Linked DNA regions of Homo sapiens: region 2 is linked to region 1. Evidence: promoter capture Hi-C in 16 types of primary human blood cells and fetal thymus (Javierre and others, 2016). All regions are on one chromosome and are shown on one strand. The core of a region is centred on a gene start or on the middle of the fragment in contact, and the rest is flanking DNA. Distances in the headings are between cores, read along the strand shown.

Region 1 (4,076 bases), core at 361-2,860:
TGAGAGCGAGCGAGGACTGAGAGGGCTGCCAGAATGCTGTCACCTCTCACTGCTGAGGGACAAATGAAAAAAAAAAGCTCACGGTCGGGCGCAGTGGCTCATGCCTGTAATCCCAGCACTTTGGGAGACCGAGGTGGGCGGATCACCTGAGGTCGGGAGTTCGAGGAAGAAACCCCGTCTGTACTAAAAATCCAAAAAAATTACCTGGGTGTGGTGGCGGACGCCCGTAATTCCAGCTACTCGAGAGGCTGAGACAGCAGAATCACTGGAACCCGGGAGGCGGAGGTTGCCGTGAGCTGAGATTGCGCCATTGCACTCCAGCCTGGACAAGAGTGAAACTGCGTCTCAAAAAAATAATGAAAGCTCACGATCCTCTTTTGGTAGTTTCACGTTACATGATGATTAAAGTTTAACTTGTTTCTCTAGCGTTTCTATTAATCTTATTTTTGAGCCTAACTTTTTTAGTTAGAAACAACTCTTAACCAGCCAGCCAGGCGTGGTGGCTCAGCCTGTAACCCCAGGACGACTCCAAAGGCTAAGGCGGAAGGGTCCCGGGCGCCCAGGAGTTCAAGGCTGTGAGCTCTGGTCGCGGCCCTGCACTCCAGCCTGGGCGACAGAACGAGTGAGACCCTCAATGTGCTCTTGCCCAGATGAAATAAAAATTCAAGTTTTGGCCAAATTTCGGAAAAGTCTTCATTCTCCCTCAATTCATTTACCTCTTCTAGTTACCAAAAATGCCTGTTTTGAGATACATGTTTTAAAACGGGAGACTTAGACAAAAGCAAAAAATAACATGGTAATTCATTCAAAGATGCAGACTACCACACTTGTTTTAATCTGATATTCTTTCCATTTCTATCCGTCTAGGACGTAATTGCACACGGGCGCCTCCCATCATTTGGTTGCTAAGGAGACAGAAGGCTGGTGTTTCCGATTTGCCACTATTACACAGCGGCCCGCGAGAAGCATCTCTTGGCTCGAAGCGCGCTGTAGGTGAACCGCCCTTGACTTAAACGCCAACACATCTAAAAGGGGGCGAGGGACGCTTTATTTTCATTTCCCTGACCACTACTGAGGTGAGCATTTCTTTCACTCGCGTACTTGTTTGTATTTTTTCTGCTGTTCACGTCCAATAGAACACTGGTTTTCTATTGGAGGCTTTTGGGTTTTTTCCCCCATTTCCCTTTCGTTACAAACGACCCGCTGCGGCCGCCTCCTGCTTGTCCCCACAGGCCCATTCAACAGCCCAGCACGGAAGGCCGGGAAAGCGGCGCTCGCCGCTCCAACAACCTCGCGCAGTCCGTGGCTCCTCCCTGCCCTCGCGCGACTCGCAGGCCTGGGCGGAGGGCTGCGTCCGCCACCGCGCAACCTCGCGCACGCGCACCACGCTCGCCTCGCAACCCCCCCCCCCGCCCCTCCCCCGCCCCCGCAAAGGCTGTTCTCAGAGTCGGAAATGGACGCACGGCAGCTGGGGCGAATGGCCGCGGACTACACTTCCCGAAGTGCCGCGCGAGGTATTCTCGGCGGTGATTGGGGCAAACGGCCACGGACTACACTTACTTACATGCCGCGCGAGGCGCCTCCGCCGCCGGGGCAAACGGCCACGAACTACACTTCCCGACACGCCGCGTGAGGCGCTGCCAGCGGCCGGCCGAGGGCGGGCGGACGCGGGAGCTGCGGACGTGAGGCATGAGCGGCGCCCTCCTCCGGCCCGCGAGCGTCCTGCTGGTTCCCCGAGCGAGGGTCTCGCGGCGCGGGGCCTAGCGGAGGGCATCGAAGGCCTCCGCGTGCGCACGGGTTGCTGCGGCCGCGCCGGGCGCCGGGGAGGGCGGCGGCCGCCATGGAGGTGAGCGGGCCGGAAGACGACCCCTTCCTTTCGCAGCTGCACCAGGTGCAGTGCCCCGTGTGCCAGCAGATGATGCCCGCCGCGCACATCAACTCGCACCTGGACCGCTGTCTGCTGCTCCACCCGGCGGGGCACGCGGAGCCCGCGGCCGGGTCGCACCGCGCCGGGGAGCGGGCCAAGGGGCCCTCGCCGCCCGGCGCCAAGAGGCGGCGGCTGTCGGAGAGCTCGGCGCTGAAGCAGCCAGCCACCCCGACGGCAGCCGAGAGCAGCGAGGGCGAGGGTGAGGAGGGCGACGACGGCGGCGAGACCGAGAGCCGCGAGAGCTACGACGCGCCGCCCACACCCAGCGGCGCCCGCCTTATCCCCGACTTCCCGGTGGCCCGCTCCAGCAGCCCCGGGAGGAAGGGGTCGGGGAAGAGGCCGGCGGCCGCCGCCGCGGCGGGGAGCGCGTCTCCGCGCAGCTGGGACGAGGCGGAGGCGCAGGAGGAGGAGGAGGCCGTGGGCGACGGCGATGGCGACGGGGACGCGGACGCGGACGGCGAGGACGACCCGGGGCACTGGGACGCGGACGCTGCCGAAGCCGCCACCGCCTTCGGGGCCAGTGGCGGGGGCCGCCCGCACCCCCGGGCGCTGGCTGCCGAGGAGATCCGACAGATGCTACAGGGCAAGCCGCTGGCCGACACGATGCGTCCTGACACGCTGCAGGATTACTTCGGGCAGAGCAAGGCCGTGGGCCAGGATACCCTGCTGCGCTCGCTCCTGGAGACCAACGAAATCCCCTCGCTTATCCTGTGGGGGCCGCCGGGCTGCGGCAAGGTGAGTGCGGCCTTGGCCGTTGGGCTTCCGTAGTTATCTCGGCGGTGGATGCAGCTGATGGTCGGAGAGCCGGGTGTGCTGCCCTCGAAAGAAGCCGCCTGCCTCTCCTGGATAAGGGGGTGCAGACTTGGGCTGGGCTGGGGCAGTGCCTGGTCCACAGGTGGAGTCTGTGATGGGTGTGAAAAGGGCACACACCCCCAGATTGGTAAGGCAGGCTTGCCGGGTTTGCAAAAGGACGATGTCTGTGAATCCATAGTTTTACAAGATGTGGACTCTTAGATTTGATCTGCCTTTATCTTCCATCGGTCTCCCCGCCCCCTCCCCAGACTTTGATTTAGTAACCGAATTCGCAAGGAATCAGCATGTTTAAATTGTAAAGAAACATTTGTATATTCCGTTTGTACATAATAACGGATTCAGCTTTGAAAAAAATCAAATTAATTCTGTTGTGCTTCCTTCCTTTTCCACTAGTTGTTGGTTTAACAGACTGGTATTTATTCTTAAGAATAAGTTTATTTAACATTCTTATATTCTTGAGAATATATTGATTTTACTAAATATACTCATGTATTTACAAAACTAACATAAAAACTTTTTCATCTGCAAGTCATTTTCATCCGGTATTTCCGTAACTTTTCTCATAATGCCTTGTACTCTAGAGAAGAAACATCCGTGCATTTTGGTGTCCAGTTCTGTGTCCCTTCGTGAGGCGTTAGCGTTCCAGATGAGGGCAGTTAGGATATTGTGAGTCTAGAAAGCATGTCATTGGAAAAACACTTGAGAAAAAAATGGAGGAGGTGAGCCAGAAAACAGAGAAAGCTAAGAAGTGCTTAAATACAGGATGCTTTTATCCATAATAAGGGAGAAGAACCAGCATCAGGAAGGGAAAGGGAGAATTCAGGGATCAAACTGTAAAGAGTTCTTGTAGCTTTGAGATTCAGACTCGTTTGCACACAAGGCTTTTATGATTTTTCTCCTATTTTTCTTTCTAGCTTTATCTCCCACAACTTAAGCACACCCCCTTTAACTCCAGTTCCTGGAATGAATTGCCCTTTTTGTGCCTTCTTGTTTGCACTCATGCCTTCCCTTTGGCCAGGAATAAACCACATCTATCCCAAATAACATCTTATGATGATGGTGGTCGAGTTGTTGACGTCTGTCCCCATGGATTTAGTTGTTAACCCCATTTAAGGGATTGAGCAGTATCATTCTTAGTAATTGTGAAGTCTTTACATAAGATCATGAGAATGGATAATCAGCTGTTGGTGGCCCCAGACAGCAAGAAGGTCCTTAGGGAGACGAGTGGGTGAGCTCATCCCACCTACCAAATGCCAGGCAAGAGGTTTGGGTGGTCCAGGCTGCTCAGTGAGATGGGCGTTGGTCATTTGCAAGCCTAGGCATCTGTGACTTGCGA
Region 2 (4,166 bases), core at 1,493-3,992, 300 kb after region 1:
GGCTGCCACCGAAAGATGGGACCTGAAGACAGGAGAGGTCGCTCAGCCAAGAGCCCCGGGGAGGCGGTGGTGTCTCGGCGGGGTCAGCAACGGTCTGTGGGGGGTCCCCTGCAGCGCGCAGCCGGTTTCCGCCTCCGCAGCTCCCAGCCAGCGCGGACGCCGCCCTCCCCGGCGCCTCCTCGCTGCCCTTCCCTGGCCGAAGCCCTCCCCTGCAGCCTCCTCCCCACCTGCCGGCCCTGTGTTCTCACTGCTCCTCTCTGCTCTGGGATCCGCAGGATGACGTCTGTCCTGGTTCTTCTTCTGTCTTTCAAAGTCACTAGTCTCCAGTTCTAAATCCGAGCACTCTTACCCATTCTAATTCTTTCAGTAACTCAGCGAAACGGATGGGGCCCTTCCTTCCCCGGAGCACTCCTCCAGGGACTGAGAATCTGCAGAGCCAGGCTCAGCGCTCGCCTGCAGAGCCTGCGGTCTGTGGGACCCGCCAGCAAGATGAGGAATCACTTTCGGGAGGAAGGGTCGTGCTGGGGAGGGTCGCGCCGGCGGGGTCAAGAGAACCTCCTCTAGGGTGGGAATCAGAGCCTCCGGGCCGCGGTGTTTGAGGGTGAGTGGAATTAATCCCGTGATGGACGTGGGGCCTTCTAAGGGGGACCAGGAGTTTGCGAAGAGGTGACTTTGGGAGGGGTTCAGGATGGCCAGAGGTGGAGGCTGTGACCTCAGTGAGGCTGGATCAAGGGAGGGGCAGGTGGAGAAGAAACCGTTTTAACGAGGTGGCTTTAAGCGGATCCTAAGGGCCCCAGGAGATTTAGGAGGAAGGACAAGAGGATTAAGACACCGCTTTCTGGTCGGGTGCGGTGGCTCACGCCTGTAATCCCAGCACTCTGGGAGGCCGAGGCGGGCGGATCACGAGGTCAGGAGATGGAGACCATCCTGGCTAACACTGTGAAACCCCGTCTCTACTAAAAAAAAGAAAAAAAAGAATACAAAAAAATAGCCGGGCGTGGTGGCGGGCGCCTGTAGTCCCAGCTACTCGGGAGGCTGAGGCAGGAGAATGGCGTGAACCCGGGAGGCGGAGCTTGCAGTGAGCTGAGATCGCGCCACTGCACTCCAGCACTCCAGCCTGGGCGACAGAGCCAGACTCCGTCTCAAAAAAAAAAAAAAAAAAAAAAAAAAAGACACGGCTTTCTGAGGTGCCGTGCGGCTGTGGCGGGGGTGGCTGGGGGTGCGGGTTGTGTTCATTGTCCAAGGCTCTCCAGTGCTTTGCGTGGCGTTTTGGGGAGCACAGATGAGGTGTCCCGACAGTGGGGAGTGGCTCTAGGGAGACCAGAGGCTCGGGAGGGGGCCTGGGCATTAGACCAGGCACAGGATCCAAAGTGGGAAGAAATGTGGGCGTAGAGGGCAGGCCTTGGAGATGGGTGTGGGGGAGGAGGGGGAGATGGAAAGGAGTCAGGGAGGTCTCCCAGGCTCACCTGGAGGAGTCAGGGTCTCATTTCCAAGTGCACTGGGAACTGCAGCCTGGGGGTGGGGGTTCATTTGGTTTCAGGCCTGTGGCCAAGAGACCTACCCCCTCATATTCACACTTTGGCCTCCACGGGCTTCAGAGATAGTACCAGCTCTTTGTTCTCGCTGGTTTTCTTTCCTCACCTTGGGCTGTTTCTTGCCTTTTCCATTCTGGTGTTCTGCAAGGACCAGTTCCTTCATCTCATGCACAGTCTACACTCATGGCTTTTGCTGGGAGTAATGAGTAAAGCTCCCAAATAGATGTTTCTGAGTTAAAACACTGAACACAAAATGAAGCAAAAACAACGCATTTCCAACCTCCCAAGGTCACATGATGTCTAGAGGACAGTGATGGGCAATAACTTTTTGTCTTCCCCATTAGAATGCAAGCTCCACGAATGGAACGTGGAGTTTTTTATTTTTTATTGTTTTTTGAGACGGAGTCTGGCTCTGTCACCCAGGCTGGAGCAATCTTGGCTCACTGCAACCTCCGCCTTCTGGGTTCAAGCAATTCTCCCGCCTCAGCCTCCTGAGTAGCTGGGTCTACAGGCATGCACCACCACGCCCAGCTAATTTTTGTATTTTTAGTAGAGACGAGGTTTCATCATGTTTGCCAGGCTGGTCCGGAACCCCTGAGCTCAGGCAATCCGCCCGACTTGGCCTCCCAAAGTGCTAGGATTACAGGTGTGAGCCACTACACACGGCCAGAACATAGAGATTTTTTGTGTTTAATTCACAACCGAGTCTTCAGTGCCTAGAACAGGTGCTCAGTAAATATTTACTGAAGGAATGAATTCCTTTTTGTATTTCTTGTATCTATCACCAGATGCTCTTGTATCTAGTACCTGCTTGGCATACAGTAGATAGAAAGCTTTGCTGAGTGAATAGCTCTGCCTTTCGTCTTTTTTGATATGTGTACATCTTTTAAAAAATAATGAATAGACTTTGTTTTAGAGCTGTTTTGGTTTACAGCAAAACTAAGCAGAAAGAAAATATCCCCTTCCACAAACATCCTGGACTGTACAGCCTCCCCTACCATCAACATCCTGCATTACTGTGGAATATTTGTCACACCTGATAAACCAACATAGATTCATGGTTACAAAAATGAACCAATATGGATAAAACATATACATTATCAGCCAAAGTCCGGAGTTTGTTAGGTTTTGCTCTTTGTGTATATTCAAGATACATTTGACAAATGTATAGAGATGTACCCAACCCTGTAACGTCAGACTCCACTGCCCTAAAAATCCCTTGTGCCTCACCTATCCATCCCTCCTTCCCTGCAAATCCCTGGCAGCCGCTGATCTTTTTTACTATCTCCGTAGTTTTTCCTTTTCCAGAATGTCACATAGTTGGAATCATGCATTATGTAGTCTTCTCAGATTGGCTTCTTTCACTTAGATTTATACATTTAGGATTGCTCCAGGATTTTTTTTTTTTTTTTTTTTTTTGTGGCTTCAGAGCTCATTTCTTTTTAGCACTTAATATTCCATTGTATAGATGTACCACAGCTTATCTGTCCACCCATTAAGTGATATCTTGGATGCCCTCAAGTTTTGGCAATTATGAATAAAGCTGCTATAGACATTCTTGTACAGGTGTTTGTATGGGCATAAGCTTTCAACTCGTTTGGGTAAATACCAAGGTGTGGAGTTGCTTCATCTTATGGTAAGAAGAGCTTGGTTAAGAAATTGCCAAAATGTCTTCCAGACTCTAACATTAGGCATTCCCACTAGGAATGTATGGGAGTTCCTTGTGCTCCAGATCCTCATCAACATTTGTTGTTGTCAGTGTTCTGAATTTTAGCCATTCTAATAAATGTGTAATAGTATTTGTTTTTTTAAATTGCAATTCTTTAATGACATGATGTTGAGCATCTTTTCATATGCATATACATATGGTGAGGTGTATGTTCAGAGCTTTTGCCCGCCTTTAATCAAGTTGTACATTTTCATATTGTTGCATTTTAAGAGGGTTTTTTTTGGTATATTTTGGGTCACAGTGCTTTATCAGATATGTCTTTTGCAAATATTTTCTCCCAGTCTGTGGCTCGTGTTGTGAACGTGGCTAGTTCTCTTGACATACATATCTTTTCACAGTATGTAATCCTGTTGTGCTTTTTTTTTTTTTCCTTTTGAGACGGAATCTTGCTCTTGTCACCCAGGCTGGAGTGCAGTGGCGCGATCTCGGCTCACTACAATCTCCACCTCCCAGGTTCAAGGGATTCTCCTGCCTCAGCCTCCCGAGTAGCTGGGATTGCTGGTGCCCGCCACCACGCCCAGTTGATTTTTGTATTTTTTAGTAGAGATGGGGTTTCACCATGTTGGCCAGGCTGGTCTCGAACTGCTGACCTCAAGTGATCCGCCCGCCTTGGCTTCCCAAAGTGCTGGGATTACAGGCGTGAACAACCGCGCCCGGCCTGATGTGCATATAATTTTATTATTTGATTTTTAATATACATGAATAGCATGCAGTTCCAACTTTGCTCGAGACTTCACAATTACCATTTTAAAGGGCTGCAAAATAATCACATTTCCTCCTCAACAGCCCCACTTTACAGATGAAGGTAGAGGAATGCTAACTTGCCTATGCTAACCCGCAGAGCTCTGAATCCTCCGGATAGCGCCCCCGCTGTAATCCACCCAGTGCTTCCCTCCAGACCC

The links. Contacts are between HindIII fragments. The CHiCAGO score rates a contact against its expected background, and 5 or more counts as called.
Region 2: a contact is called between a fragment that was not itself captured here and the fragment with the promoter of WRNIP1 in region 1, in 2 of 17 cell types (megakaryocytes and naive CD4 T cells). The highest score is 7.4, in megakaryocytes.

What each region holds. Positions count from the first base shown.
Region 1 is chr6:2,763,783-2,767,858 of GRCh38, forward strand. It overlaps WRNIP1 (WRN helicase interacting protein 1), which reads left to right and starts at 1,611. Exons shown (of 7, transcript NM_020135.3): 1 at 1,611-2,662. The coding sequence starts at 1,841. It also overlaps a transcript of MYLK4 not described here. RefSeq lists enhancers at 176-1,055, 1,153-1,447 and silencers at 902-991, 1,372-1,421, 1,582-2,041, 2,212-2,531. The HindIII fragment of the contact is 13,290 bases long and covers 1-4,076 here.
Region 2 is chr6:3,064,121-3,068,286 of GRCh38, forward strand. It overlaps a transcript of RIPK1 not described here. Among named protein-coding and RNA genes, the nearest start is that of RIPK1, 2.3 kb to the right of the region's middle. RefSeq lists a silencer at 80-189. The HindIII fragment of the contact is 752 bases long and covers 2,367-3,118 here.